Linked DNA regions of Homo sapiens: region 2 is linked to region 1. Evidence: promoter capture Hi-C in human tissues and cell types (Jung and others, 2019). All regions are on one chromosome and are shown on one strand. The core of a region is centred on a gene start or on the middle of the fragment in contact, and the rest is flanking DNA. Distances in the headings are between cores, read along the strand shown. Region 1 holds the start of MAPK3 (mitogen-activated protein kinase 3). Region 2 holds the start of TMEM219 (transmembrane protein 219).

The links. Contacts are between HindIII fragments. The study calls those that stand out against the background at their distance.
Region 2: a contact is called between a fragment that was not itself captured here and the fragment with the promoter of MAPK3 in region 1, in 1 of the 25 tissues and cell types used here (aorta).

The regions. Positions count from the first base shown.
Region 1 is chr16:30,120,177-30,127,555 of GRCh38, reverse strand. It overlaps MAPK3 (mitogen-activated protein kinase 3), which reads left to right and starts at 4,336. Exons shown (of 9, transcript NM_002746.3): 1 at 4,336-4,516; 2 at 5,550-5,732. The coding sequence starts at 4,347. RefSeq lists a silencer at 3,975-4,344. The HindIII fragment of the contact is 30,345 bases long and covers 1-7,379 here.
Region 2 is chr16:29,955,029-29,962,407 of GRCh38, reverse strand. TMEM219 (transmembrane protein 219) reads right to left here and starts at 329. Exons shown (of 6, transcript NM_001083613.2): 1 at 276-329. RefSeq lists a silencer at 47-496 and an enhancer at 847-956. The HindIII fragment of the contact is 4,191 bases long and covers 1,998-6,188 here.

The DNA.
Region 1 (7,379 bases), core at 3,087-5,586:
AATCCTAGCACTTTGGGAGGCCAAGGCAGGTGGATCACTTGAGGTCAGGAGTTTGAGACCAGCCTGGCCAACATGGTGAAACCCATCCTAATAAAAATACAAAAAGAATTAGCCAGATGTGGTATTGTGTACCTGTAGTGCCAGCTACTTGGGAGGCTGAGGAAGGGAGATCATTTGAGCCTGGGAGGTTGAGACTGCAGTGAGCTGTGATCATGCCACTGCACTCTAGCCTGGGCAACAGAGCGAGACCCTGTCTCAAAAAAAAGGAAAGAAATGAAATGAAAAGAAAGGCCAGGCGCAGTGGCTCACACCTGTACCTGTAATCCCAGCATGATGGGAGGCCAAGGTGGGCAGATCTCTTGAGACCAGGAGTTCAAGACTAGCCTGGGTAACATGGTGAACCTCGTCTCGATACAATACAATAGTAAAGGCAAAGTGACATGAGAATCACAAGGAAATATCAGACAAACCCAAACTGAGGGACATTCTACAAAATAACTGACCTATAATCTTCAAAAGTCTACGGTCATGAAAGACCAGAATACTACTACTAATAATAAGAAGAATAAATAACTATTTCAGGCCAGGCATGGTGGCTCATGCCTGTAATCCCAGCACTTTGGGAGGCCAAGGTGGGCGGATCATTTGAGACCAGCCTGGGCAACACGGTGAAACCCCATCTCTACCAAAAATACTAAAATTAGCTGGGCATGGTGACACATGCTTGTGGTCCCAGCTACTCAGAAGGTTGAGGTGAGAGGATCATTTGAGCCTGAGAGGCAGAGGTTGCAGTGAGCCATGACCGCACCACTGCAGTCCAGCCTGGGCGACACAGCATGACACTGCCTCAAAAAAAAAAAAAAAGAAAGAAAGAAAGAAAAAAAGAAGTGCCAGACCTTGAAAATCACAAAAAGCTAATAACTGGTTTAAGATTTAATCTGGAGCCAGCCGAAGTGGCTCATGACTGTAATCCTAGCACTCCGAAAGGCCGAGGTGAGAGGATCACTTGAGCCTAGAAATTTGAGACCAGACTGGGCAACATTAGCTAGAACCCTTCTCTACAAACATTCTAAAAATTAGCCAAGCCAGGCACGGTGGCTCACACCTGTAATCCCAGCACTTTGGGAGGCCAAAGTGGGCAGATCACTTGAGGTCAGGAGTTTGAAACCTGCGTGGCCAACATGGTGAAACCCCATCTTTACTAAATATATAAAAATTAGCCAGGCGTGGTGACGTGTGCCGGTAATCCCAGCTACTTGTAAGGCTGAGGCAGGAGAATCGCTTGACCTGGGAAGTAGAGGTCAAGGTGAGCCGAGATTGTGCCATTGCATTCCAGCCTGGGCACAGAGGGAGACTCCATCTCAAAAAAAAAAAAAAAAATGCTGGGCGCAGTGGCTCACACCTGTAATCTCAGCACTTTGGGAGGCCGACACGGGCGGATCACGAGGTCGGGAGATAGAGACCATCCTGGCTAACACGGTGAAACCCCCTCTCTAATAAAAATACAAAAAATTAGCCAGGCATGGTGGCACACGCATGTAGTTCCACCTACTCAGGAGGCTGAGGCAGGAGACCCGGGAGGCAGAGGTTGCAGTGAACTGAGATTGCACCATTGCACTCCAGCCTGGGCAACAGAGCAAGACTCCGTTTCAAAAACAAAAAAAAAAAATTAGCTAGGCGTGGTTGTGTGTGCTAGGCATGGTGGCAGGATCTGTTGAGCCTAAGAGTTCGAGCCTGCAGTGACCTATGATCTTGCCACTACACTCCACTCCAGCCTGGGCAACAGAGCAAGACCCTGTGCTAGAAAAATAATTCTGCCGGGCACAGTGGCTCACGCCTGTACTCCTAGCACTTTGGGAGGCCGAGGCAGGTGGATCATGAGGTCAGGAGATGGAGACCATCCTGGCTAACACGGTGAAACCCCGTCTCTACTAAAAATACAAAAAATTAGCCAGGCATGGTGGCGGGTGTCTGCAGTCCCAGCTACTCAGGAGGCTGAGGCAGGAGAATGGCGTGAACCTGGGAGGCGGAGCTTGCAGTGAGCTGAGATCGCGCCACTGCACTCCAGCCTGGGTGACAGAGCGTAAGCTTCCACATCGTTTTCCCTCTGTCCCTTTTTTTGGGGGGGTGGGGGTGGGGGCAGGGTCTCTCACTCTGTCACCCAGGCTGGAGTGCAGTGGCACCATCAGAGCTCACTGCAACCTCAACATCCTGGGCTCAACTGATCCTCCTGCCTCAGCCTCCCAAGTAGCTGGGATTACGGACGCATGCCACCACACCCAGCTCATTTTTGTATTTTTGGTAGAGATGGGATCTCACTATGTTGCCCAGGCTGGTCTCCAGCTGCTGGGGTCAAGCAATCAGCCTGCCTCAGCCTCCCAAAGTGCTGGAATCACAGAGGTGAGCCACCACGACCAGCCAGCATCATTTTCCAGTTAAATGTTAATAGTATCTACTTCATATGGCTGCTGTGAGGATTACAGGAGGTAGTGTACATAAAAGTGCCTGGCAAGCCAGGTGCCGTAATCTCAGCACTCTGGGAGGCCAATGTGGGTGGATCACCTGAGGTCAAGAGTTTGAGACCAGCCTGGCCAACATGGTGAAACCTCGTCTCTACTAAAAATACAAAAATTAGCCGGGCGTGGTGGCTGGCGCCTGTAATCCTAGCTACTTGGGAGGCTGAGGTGGGAGAATGACTTGAACCCAGGAGGTAGGGGTTGCAGTGAGCTTGCACTCCTGCCTGGGTGATAGAGCAAGACTCCGTCTCAAAAAAACAAACAAACAAACAAACAAAAAAAAACCAAAAGTGCCTGGCACAGAAGAGATGGTAAGTCTACATTAGTTGAATATGCGTCTATGAACCAGAACAAATCCCAGTCCAGTCCTCCAAGGAAATGCCAACCTCAGTCACTAGAGGGGAATCTCAGTCACACTCTAACTGAGCTTCCAGCAGCAGGAGGTGGCAGCTTGCAGCTCTGATACACCAGCCTTTCCTATGCTGGGAAACTCACTCCCACTCAGCAAACCTGGCTCCATGCTGAACTCCATAGTGTTTTCTCTGAGTCACTATATTCTCCCGCAGTTGCAAAATGATCTGGCAAAAGTCCCTCTAGGGTTTTTACTGCTTACTGAGTAACATCCAAACTCCTTGCCAGAATCCAGAGCCTTCCTAATCTGGCCCCAACCTACCTCTCCAGGCTGAAACCTCATCATTTTTTTACTGCAGCCATGCTGGACAAGTTATGCTTCTGCCTTTATGCCTCAGCTCACCCCGATCCTTCTCCTTCATGCCTTTCTTCAGTCCCTACCTTCTGCAACCCTACTTTTTCTCTTCTTCTTTTTGTTTTTTGTTTTTGAGACGGAGTGTTGCTCTGTCGCCCAGGCTGGAGTGAAGTGGTGCAATCTCAGCTCACTGCAACCTCCTCCTCTCGGGTTCAAGCGATTCTCCTGCCTCAGTCTCCCAAGTAGCTTGGATTACAGGCACGTGCCACCATGCCCAGCTAATTTTTGTATTTTTAGTAGAGACGGGGTTTCACCATGTTGGTCAGGCTGGTCTCAAACTCAGGTGATCTGCCCACCTCGGCCTCCCAAAGTGCTGGGATTACAGGCGTGAGCCACCGTGCCCAGCCCCCCAATTTTTTTTTTTAATTAGCAGGGCGTGGTGGCGCGCACTCGTAGTCCCAGCTCTTTGGGAGGCTGAGGTGGGAGGATCACTTGACCCCAGGGAGGTTGAGGCTGCAGTGAGCAATTATTGCACCACTACACTCCAGCCTGGACGACAGAGAGAGACCCTGTCTCTATAATAAAATAAAAACAGTCTAGGACTCTGAGAGGCATGGAATTAGAAAGAGTCTCTGTGTCAGAAGACACCATTTTGAGTCTCAGCTGTCACTACTAGTGACCTTACCCAAGTTAGTAAACCTAACTCTCAGATTCTCCATCTGTAAAATTTGATCCATTTATTAGAACATTATTTTTAACCTAGGGTGATCCCGGGCCCAGGTTCTGGTGGGCTGCCGCATACATTGGCTGGGTGGCTCTGGTAGGTCACGCCCTGGCCGCTTCGCCATCGAGGGGAGGGTGAGGACAGTCTCCGAGGCGGCGCTGCCGAACCTCCCGGTGACCTGGAGGCCGCGGAGCCCGCAGGGACCCATGGCCCCCGAACCTGGGGCAAGAAGGGCGGGCGCGCGCGGGGCGGGTCACGTGACAGCTCCAGGCCCACGCGGGGCCGGGGCAAGGGCGGGGCCTGGCGCGCGCGGCCCTGCGGGTGACAGGCAGGCGGGAAGGGGCGGGGCCTCGGGCGGGGCCGCCGTGGGGAGGAGGGCGGTGGGAGGGGAGGAGTGGAGATGGCGGCGGCGGCGGCTCAGGGGGGCGGGGGCGGGGAGCCCCGTAGAACCGAGGGGGTCGGCCCGGGGGTCCCGGGGGAGGTGGAGATGGTGAAGGGGCAGCCGTTCGACGTGGGCCCGCGCTACACGCAGTTGCAGTACATCGGCGAGGGCGCGTACGGCATGGTCAGGTGAGGGGGCGTTCCGGGGGAGGGGGTGCCCTCAGGGGAGGGGGCTTCGCGGGAGAGGAGGAGGAGGCGCCGAGCGCTTTCCGGGACGTGGAGACGCGGAGCGTCCCGAGGAGGCAGGAGACTCGGGATGATCGGGAGCGTCCCAGGGAGGGGGCCCCTGAGTGCTTTCTGGGGGAGGGGGCGCTGCCTACGTCCTCAGGGGAGCAGGCTTGGAGGCTTTGAGTCCACCCTTCTGTAATGATGGGAGGGGCATCCGAGTGCATGTGGGGGCCCGCGGGGACCCTAGTGACACGGGGCGAGGCCCAGAGGATGAGTACTCTCGGGGAGGCGACATCCTTAGTGAAGAGGCAGTGGAGGGCCCGTTTTGGGGGAAAGGGTGTCTTGGATTCCCCCTGTGAGGCAGTGCCAGGGAGCCTGGGGGAGAAGAGCCGAGATCAGGGTGGGGCAGGGCTTTGGCCCCACCACCCCAGGGGCCCAGAGAGAGATGAGGCGGCCAGGAGTGCCACCTGCATGTTTTGGGAGGGGTCTGTGAGTGCCCCCGGCCCCACCGTGTGCTCTGGGCCTCTATCCCTCTGGGACAGCCCCGCTGCCCGGATCCCTCACCCTGGGACCCTCCCCTGCCCTGTCCATTCTCTCCTGCCCCTCCCCTGGCTGCCACCTTCCCAGTATTTGCCCCATGGTGTGTCCCCAGCATCTGCACCCCCGGACCTGTCTTGGGTTAAGGAGCCTTTCCTGGGAATGGGGGCGAAGGGTTCAGGGCCAGTAGAATGGAAGGGGATTGAGGAGAGGGGAAGTCAGTGAGCGGTCAGTCTCTTCCTCTGTTTGTAAAGTCACCGAAGGGCCGCCTGGCTGGTCCCCAGCTTTCTCTCTGGAGATCCCAGGCCTCCACAGCAGGAAGGAACCAGCATTGTTTATGATTTGACCAGAGCCAGCTCCTGCTCTCTCCCCTCCCTGCCAAGGCCTGGGTGGGGCCACCAGGCCCGGACTCCCCCTTTGTAAGGCCACAGCAGCAGCCTCTCTCCGGTCCCCTCAGCTCGGCCTATGACCACGTGCGCAAGACTCGCGTGGCCATCAAGAAGATCAGCCCCTTCGAACATCAGACCTACTGCCAGCGCACGCTCCGGGAGATCCAGATCCTGCTGCGCTTCCGCCATGAGAATGTCATCGGCATCCGAGACATTCTGCGGGCGTCCACCCTGGAAGCCATGAGAGATGTGTATCCTTCACCTTGGCCAGTCGGCTGGTCAGGCACGGCCTCGCAGCTGGGCTGGGGACCCGTTGCTTGGTTTCTGTTTCCATCTTACCCACCACCCTCCAAAACAAACCCAGTAAAATAAACTTTCCTGCAGAGGGGAAGCCACAGTGTAACAGGACTTGGAGACCTCTGATGAACCCAGGCCTGCAGCGGCCCAGGCAGTATGGCCTCGAGCAAGTGGGTTCTCTGCTCTGTGCCCCAGGGGGAAGGGCTAGGCAGGATGGTCTCTATGGGAGTGGTGTCTTCTGACGTCGGCAGTTCTGAGACATGACCTGGCCTCTGCCCACAGTCACTTCTTGCTAAGGAATGGATGATTCTTTCCTCTCTTTCCTCCTTGCCCAGACCGGAAGGGAGACAGGGAGAAAGAAAACTGTCAGCTGGGCGTGGTGGCTCACGCCTGTAATCCCAGCACTTTGGGAGGCTGAGGTGGGAGATTACCTGAGGTCAGTAGTTGGAGACCAGCCTGGCCAACATGGTTAAACCCCATCTCTACTAAAAATACAAAAAAATTAGCGGGGCATGGTGGTGCAAGCCTGTAATCCCAGCTACTTGGGAGGCAGAGGTAGGAGAATCGCTTGAACCCAGGAGCTGGAGGTTGCAGTGAGCCAAGATCGTGCCACTGCACTCCAGCCTGGGTGACAGAGCGAGACTCTGTCTCAAAACTAAACAAAAACAAAAAACTGCCTTTCTTGAGGGCCTGCTGTGTGTCAGGTACTATACATGCCCAATGCTTTTTTTTTTCTATTACACCTCCCAACTACCCTATGAGATGGGCTTTTCAGCTTCATTTCAAAGATGAGGGGTGGAGTGCAATGGCTCACATCTGTAGTCCCAACACTTTGGGAGGCTAAGACCAGAGGATCACTGGAGGCCAGGAGTTCAAGACCAGCCTGGGCAGCATAGTGAGACCCCACCTCTACAAAAAATTTAAAAATTATCCAGGTTTGGTGGTACACGACTATAGTCCCAGCTACTTGGGAGGCTGAGGCAGGAGGATGGCTTGAGCTTAGGAGTTCGAGGCTGCAGTGAGCTATGATTGTGCTACTGCACTCTAGCCTGGGGGACAGAGCGTGACCCTGTCAAAAAAAAAAAAAAAAAAAAAGATGAGGAAGCTAAGGCTCAGAAAACCTAAAATCAAGTGTTTCTGTTGCTGTCTCCTCCTCTCCTCCCCCAGATGGGAACTTGTCCTTCTTCTTAGGACTTCTCACTCAGAGCCACACCCTAATCACCTGTGGACTTGCACCTTGCCCAGGGAGGGACAGCCTAGCCTTGGCTGTCCTCCCCCAATACTGCTTTCCTAGTTTGCTGTCCACTTCCTGTCTGGCTCTCCTTAGCAACTTATGACACCTGTCACTTCTTCCCTGCCCCACCCACCCACTCTCAGTCCCAGCCCTCCACCCAAGAGTGGGGATTTGTACTGAGGTGTCTGCAACCCCCACCACAAACTGTGGACAGGAAATCTCCGTGCTCACCCCCAGCTCGCTGTGTGATCTGAAGCAAGTCACTGCGTCTCGCTGGGCCTCCCCAGCCCTAAAACAGCAGGGCTGGTCCACATATTCTCTGAAGACCCTTTCAAGGCTGATTCTTGTTTTCTTTGTTTTTTGTTTG
Region 2 (7,379 bases), core at 2,844-5,343, 160 kb after region 1:
CTGATGGAAAAGAACTTCTGGAAGGCGAAGAGATAAACAGGGGTCGGGGGAAAAGAAGGGAGCCACGGAAATGTAGGTGTCACAAATGCTCAGCCCTGCCCCGCCTCCCGTCCGGCTGGAAGGGGGTTAAAGGGAGGGGAGGGCAGAGTCTGAGGGTCCGCCGCCGCTGGTGCACCTGAGCACCCCCTCCCCGGAAAGCCCCCGCCCCGAACGATTGCAACGCCCTCGTCCCCTCCCGGTCTCGCGCGTCGGATCCGCCAGCCGCTCGCTCTTACCCCTCGGGGCCGGGCGGAGGCCGGCGCCCCCCGCGACGTCACGAGCGGGGCCGCGAGGGGGCGGGGTCCGTGCTCTGCGCTTCCGTCCCCGACCCTCCTCCTCGCGCGGCCCCGCCCCGCGGCCGGGTCCGCATGCGCAGTGGCCACGCGGGCGCCAGCCTCGCAGCTCACCGCCAGGGTGGGGGCGTACCAAAGGGACACCCAAGGAAGGAGCCACCAGAAAGGAAAACCTCCGTGGGAGGGGTGGAAACGGGAGCGAGGCCAGGGAGCAAGTGCGAGAAACGTCGCAGAACCCGTAGGCTCCCTCCAGAGAGACTGGCGAGAACTGCCCCAGAAGCTTGTCGCGGGCATTTTTGGGCTGTGCGTCCCCTACCCGCGCCAATAGCACAGACCAGCCGCGCCCGGGTTCCCGGTGAGGACTCGGCATCCGCTCAGAGTTGCAGGGCTGCCACTTGAGGACTCTGTCCACTGGGGCTGGGAGTGGTGTTTTGGACTCCGCTCTTCTGTGCACCCCGATCTGCACCTTTCTCGTGGACCCTGACTTTTAGTGACTCCTTAATGTATAGGATGCTGGAGCTGAAGAGTTGCTCAGTAGAGAGCATCTCAGTTCACTTCTGCCCAAGTTTTGGAGGTGAGAACATCTGACTGGAGGTAGCATGACACATGGAGCCAGGAACTTTGGGTTCAAATCCTGACTGTCCGTACCCTCGCATAAGCCATAGCCGCGCTCTCAGGGGACTAAGCTTACCCCTCTACTAAAGAGGATCATCCTATCTATCTCACCGGTTGGATCAGAAGCTTAAAGGGTAAAATGTGGGAAAACATGGGCCCAGTGCCCACTAAGCACACAGGACAGATGCTACTTGAAACGGAATCTATTTAATTCGACTGTGGCTTCCTTAAGGCAGAGGCCATGTCGTTTGTATCAACAGCCACAAAAGTTTGTGGCACAAAACCTTCGCATATACAAATGATTTTTTTTTTTTTTGAGACGGGGTCTCAGTCTGTCGCCAGGCTGGAGTGTAGTGGCGCGATCTCGACTCACTGCAACCTCCGCCTCCCGGATTCAAGCTATTCTTCTGCCTCAGCCTTCCGAGTAGCTGGGACTACAGGCGCACGCCACCACGCCCAGCTAATTTTTGTATTTTTAGTAGAGACGAGGTTTCACCATGTTGGCCGGGATGGTCTTGATCTCTTGACTTCGTGGTCTGCCCGCATCGGCCCCCCAAAGTGCTGGGATTACAAGCGTGAACCACCACACCCGGCCGATTTTTTTTTTTTTTTTTTTTTTTTTTTGACAGAGCCTTGCTCTGTCATCGCCCAGGCTGGAGTTCAGTGGCACAATCAAAGCTCGCTGCAGTCTGGACGTCTTGGGCTCAAGAGATCCTCCCGCCTTAGCCTCCTGGGTAGTTGAGACAGCCGGTAGTCACACGCCACCCACCATGCCCAGCTAACTTTTGCATTGTGTGTAGAGACGGGGTTTTGCCATTTGCCATGTTGCCCAGGCATGTCTCGAACTCCTGACCTCAAGCAGTCCTCTCGCCTCGGCCTCCCAAAGTGCTGGGATTACAGGCGTGAGCCACTGTGCCCTGACTAGTCAAATGATTTTTGACAAGGGTGCTGTGGGCGTTCAGTAGAGAAAAGAGTCTTTTCTGTGCATCGAAGGACACAACAGGCTGGGCACGGTGGCTCAAGCCTGTAATCCTAGCACTTTGGGAGGCCGAGGCGGGTGGATCACCTGAGGTCAGGAGTTTGAGACCAGCCTGGCCAACATGGTGAAACCCCATCTCTACTAAAAGTACAAAATTAGCCAGGCATGGTGCCGGGCGCCTATAATCCCAGCTACTCCGGAGGCTAAGGCTGGAGAATCGCTTGAACCTGGGGAGTGGAGGTTGCAGTGAGCTGAGATTGCACCACTTCACTCCAGCCTGGGCAAAAGATCAAAACTCTGCCCCACAAAAAACAAAAACAAAAAAAGGAAAGGACAGTGAAAAGGCAACCAACAGAATGAGAGGAAATATCAAATCATATATCTTATAAGGGGTTAATATCTATAATATATAAAGAACTCCTACAACTCAACAACAGCCCAATCTCAGCTCACCTCAACCTCTGCCTCTCAGGCTCAAGGGATTCTCCTGCCTCAGCCTCCCGAGTAACTGAGATTACAGGCACACGCCACTATCACCTGACTAATTTTTGTACTTATTAGTAGAGACAGGGTTTCACCATATTGGCCAGGCTGATCTCAAACTCCTGACCTCAAATGATCCACCCGCCTTGGCCTCCCAAAGTACTAGGATTATAGGCGTGAGCCACCGCGCCCGGCCTAATTTTTTGTATTTTTAGTAGAGATGGGGTTTCATCATGTTGGCCAGGCTGGTCTCAAATTCCTGACCTCAGGTGATCCACCCGCCTCAGACTCACGAAGTGCTGGGATTACAGGTGTGAACCACCGCACCAGCCAAGTATACCAACATTTTGACTTAATCCACTCAACAAGCCCTCAAAGTGGATGTTATTCTGGAAAGCTGGCCCTTAGTTTAAGTCAGGGGTCCCCAACCCCTGGGCCGTGGGGCCAGTACCAGTCCGTGACGTGTTAGGAACTGAGCCGCACAGCAGGAAGTGAATGGCTGGTGAGAGAAGCTTCATCTGTATTTACAGCTACTCCCCATTGCCTGCATTACCGCCTCAGCTCTGCTTCCTGTCAGATCAGTAGCGGCATTAGATTATCATAGGAGCATGAATCCTATTGTGAACTGCGCATGCGAGGGATCTAGGTTGCTCCTTATGAGAATCTAATGCCTGATGATCTCTCACTGTCTCCCATCAACATCAGATGGGACTATCTAGTTGCAGGAAAACAAACTCAGGGATCCCACTGATTCTACTTTATGATGAGTTGTATAATTATTTTATTATACCTTATAATGTAATAATAATAGAAATAAAGTGCAAAATAAATGTAATGTGCTTGAATCATCCCGAAACCATTCCTCCCCTGGTGGAAAAATTGTCTTCCATGAAACTGGTCCCCAGTGCCAAAAAGGTTGGGGACTGCTGGTTTAATTTAACCAAGGTCATACATATATTAGGTGGCAGAAGTTGGGTTATGATTTAAGCCTGACCACAGCATGGCATGTGGGAATGAGAAAGCCCTGTTGAGGCTCGTTCATTCAATAAGCATCTGTTGGCTGCCAGGCTGTGTATTCTGTGGGCTGGGAATATAGTGGTGGACAAAGTATTCATGATCTCTGGCCTCCTGGAACTACAATCTGGCATGTTCAGGCTGGGCGCAGTGGCTCATGCCTGTAACCCCAGCACTTTGGGAGGCCGAGGCGGGAGGATCACCTGAGGTTGGGAGTTCAAGACTAGTCTGACCAACATGGAGAAACCCCATCTCTACTAAAAATACAAAATTATTCGGGCGTGGTGGCATATGCCTGTAATCTCAGCTACTTGGGAGGCTGAGGCAGGAGAATCGCTTGAACCCAGGAGGCGGAGGTTGCAGTGAGCCGAGATCACGCCATTGCACTCCAGCCTGGACAACAAGAGCGAAACTCCATCTCAAAAAAAAAAAAAAAAGCAACAGGAAAAGTGCATGTTTGCCTAAACCTTTTTTCTTCTTCTTCTTTTTTTTTTTTGGAGGCAGAGTTTCACTCTGGTTACCCAGGCTGGAGTGCAGTGGTGCGATCTCAGCTCACGGCAACCTCTGCCTCCTGAGTTCAAACAATTGTCCTGCCTCAGCCTCCCTAGTAGCTGGGACTACAGGCGTGCGTCACCAGGCCCAGCTAATTTTTTTGTATTTTTAGTAGAGACAGGGTTTTGCCATGTCATCCAGGCTGGTCTCGAACTCCTGACCTCAAGTGATCCATCCACCTTAAGCTTCCCAAAGTGCTGGGATTACAGGTGTGAGCCAGTGAGCCCCACCTTTTTTTTGTTTCTTTTTTTTTTTGAGACAGGGTCTTGGTCTGTCACCCAGGCTGGTGGGCAGTGGCGCAATCTTGGCTCAGTGCAACCTCCCTCCTCACCATGCTCAAGCAATCCTCCCACTTCATCCGCCCAAGTAGCTGGGACCACAAGTGTGCACCACCATGCCAAGCTATTTTTTTTTCTCTCTTTTTGTATTTTTAGTAGAGACGGGGTCTCACCATGTTGTGCAGTCTGGTCTCGAACTCCTGAGCTCAAGCCGTCTACCCGCCTCAGACTCCCAAAGTGCTGGGATTACAGGTGTGAGCCACCCTGCCCGGCCCCATCTAGACTTTTTTTTTTTGAGATGGAGTCTTGCTCTGTCGCCCAGACTGGAGTGAAGTGGTGTGATCTCGGCTCGCTGCAACCTCCAACTCCTGGGTTCAAGTGATTCTCCTGCCTCAGTCTCCTGAGTAGCTGGGATTACAGAGGCATGCCACTGTCCCTGGCTAATTTTTGTATTTTTAGTAGAGACGGGGTTTCACCATGTTGGCCAGGCTGGTCTCAAACTCCTGACCTCAAGTGATCCACCCGCCTTGGCCTCCCTAAGTGCTAGGATTACAGGTGTGACACATCGTGACTGGCCAAAAAAAAATTTTTTTTTGAGACGGAGTCTCGCTCTGTTGCCCATGCTGGAGTGCGGTGGCATGATCTCTGCTCACTGCAAGCTCCGCCTCCTGGGTTCACACCATTCTCCTGCCTCAGTCTCCCAAGTAGCTGGGACTACAGGTGCCTGCCACCACACCCAGCTAATTTTTTGTATTTTTTAGTAGAGACAGGGTTTCACCATGTTAGCCAGGGTGGTCTCGATCTCATGACCTCGTGATCTGCCCGCCTCGGCCTCCCAAAGTGCTGGGATTACAGGTGTGAGCCACCGCGCCCGGCTTTTTTTTTTTTTTTTTAAGGTGGAGTTTCACTCTTGTAGCCCAGGCTGGAGTGCAATGGCGCAATCTCGGCTCACTGCCACCTCCACCTCCCGGGTTCAAGCGATTCTCCCACCTCAGCCTCCTGATGGGACTGCAGGTGCCTGCCACCACGCCCGGCTAATTTTTGTATTTTCAGTAGAGACGGGGTTTCACCATCTTGGCCAGGTTGGTCTCAAATTCCTGACCTCTTAATCCCTCTTCGGCCTCCCAAAGTGCTGGGATTGCAGGCATGAACCACTGCACCCAGCCCAAAAAAATTTTTAAGTTAGCTGGATGCCCAGCCACTCTGTAGTCCCATCCTGTAGTCCCAGTACCTGTAGTCCCAGCCACTCTGGAGGCTAAGGCAGAAGGATCACTTGAGCTGCAATGAACCGAGATTGCCACTGCACTTCAGCCTAGGTAACAGAGTAAGACCCTGTCTCTAAAATAAATACATAAACAAATAAATATTACTTTATTAAATCATGTCAATAACAAAGCAAATTATTATCCCTATTTTATGGATGAGAAAACCAAGACTTAGCAATGTTAGCAAACTTGCCCGTGGTCTGCAGCTAGCCCACCAGCTACATGTCCCACACAGGAAAGAACAATAAAAATATAGAAAAAAAATAGAATAATATGATTGCCTGGAATAAGAAATATTTATTCCAAAATAGAATTTAAAAATAGGATAATATGATTACCTGGAATAAGAGATACTTTCTGAAGCAAGACACACAAATATAGAAACCATAAATGAAGAAGGTTGATAAATTTAATTGTTTAAAATTTAAAACCTCTGTATGATAAGATCCCACGTGAGTGAGAAGTGGGAGAAAATCACTGCGGTATATATAAACTGTCAAGGGATTAGAAGTTGCTAACATTTTTTGTTTTGTTTTGTTTTGAGATGGAGTCTCGCTCGGTCACCTAGGCTGGAGTGCAGTGGGTCCATCTCAGTTCACTGCAACCTCCAGCTCCCAGGTTCAAGCGATTCTCCTGCCTCAACCTCCTAAGTAGCTGGGATAACAGGCGCTTGCCACCACACCCAGCTAATTTCTTTTGTATTTTTAGTAGAAATGGGGTTTCACCATGTTGCTAGGCTGGTCTCGTACCTCTGACTACAAGTGATCCACCCACCTTGGCTTCCCAAAGTGCTGGGATTACAGGCGTGAGCCACCACGCCCAGCCTGTTTTGTTTTTTACTAAGGTAAAATTTACATAGAGTGAAATGCACAGATCTTAAAGTATAAAATTTCATGAGTTTTGACAAATGTAATGCCTATCTAAACACCCCAATCAAGACATAAAACACTTCTAGGTCCAAGAACTTCCTTCCCTTCCCTTTCTAGTCAGTCCCCACTGCCCGTGTCCATAGGCAACTACTATCCTGATTCCGTAACCAAAAATAGTTATTTTTTTCTTTAAAATGCCCAGATTCACTTAATAGACTGTAAGTGTTGTTAGAAGAGGATCTGCCTGATTTTTTTCTTAGTATTTGTGTGTGTGTGTGTGGTAAACAACATATATAATATAAAACTTGCCATTTTAGCTTTTTTTTTTTTTTTTTGAGACAGATCTCGCTCTGTTGCCCAGGCTGGAATGCAATGGTGCAATCTTGGCTCACTGCAACCTCCACTTCCTGAGTTCAAGTGATTCTCCTGCCTCAGCCTCCCAAGTAACTGGGATTACAGGTGTCTGCCACTACACCTGGCTAATTTTTTGTATTTTTAGTAGAGACGAGGTTTCACCGTATTGGCCAGGCTGGTCTTGAACTCCTGACCTCAGGTGATCCACCTGCCTTGGCCTCCGGAAGTGCTGGGATTACAGACATGAGCCACTGCACCTGGCCATTTTAGCTATTTTTAAGTGCACAGTTCAGTGGTATTAATTACATTCACAATTTTGTGCAACTGTCACTACTATTTCCAAAACTTTTTCATCACTCCAAACAGAAATTCTGTAACATTAAGCAATAACTTTCTTTTTTTTTATGGGAAAAAAATGGATGATTTATTATATAAAAGTATGATTGGCAGAATACAGAAAAACTGTTTTTTTTTACCTTTACGTGTTTATTACAAACACCAAACAAGGTGTAACAATTGGAAGAACGAATTTCAAACTACCCAAAATTATTCATTTGGTGAAATTATTCAAGTCACGAATGCTAAGTAAATAGATGCACTTCAAAATATGCAAAGTGTGGCTGGGTGCAGTGGCTCAC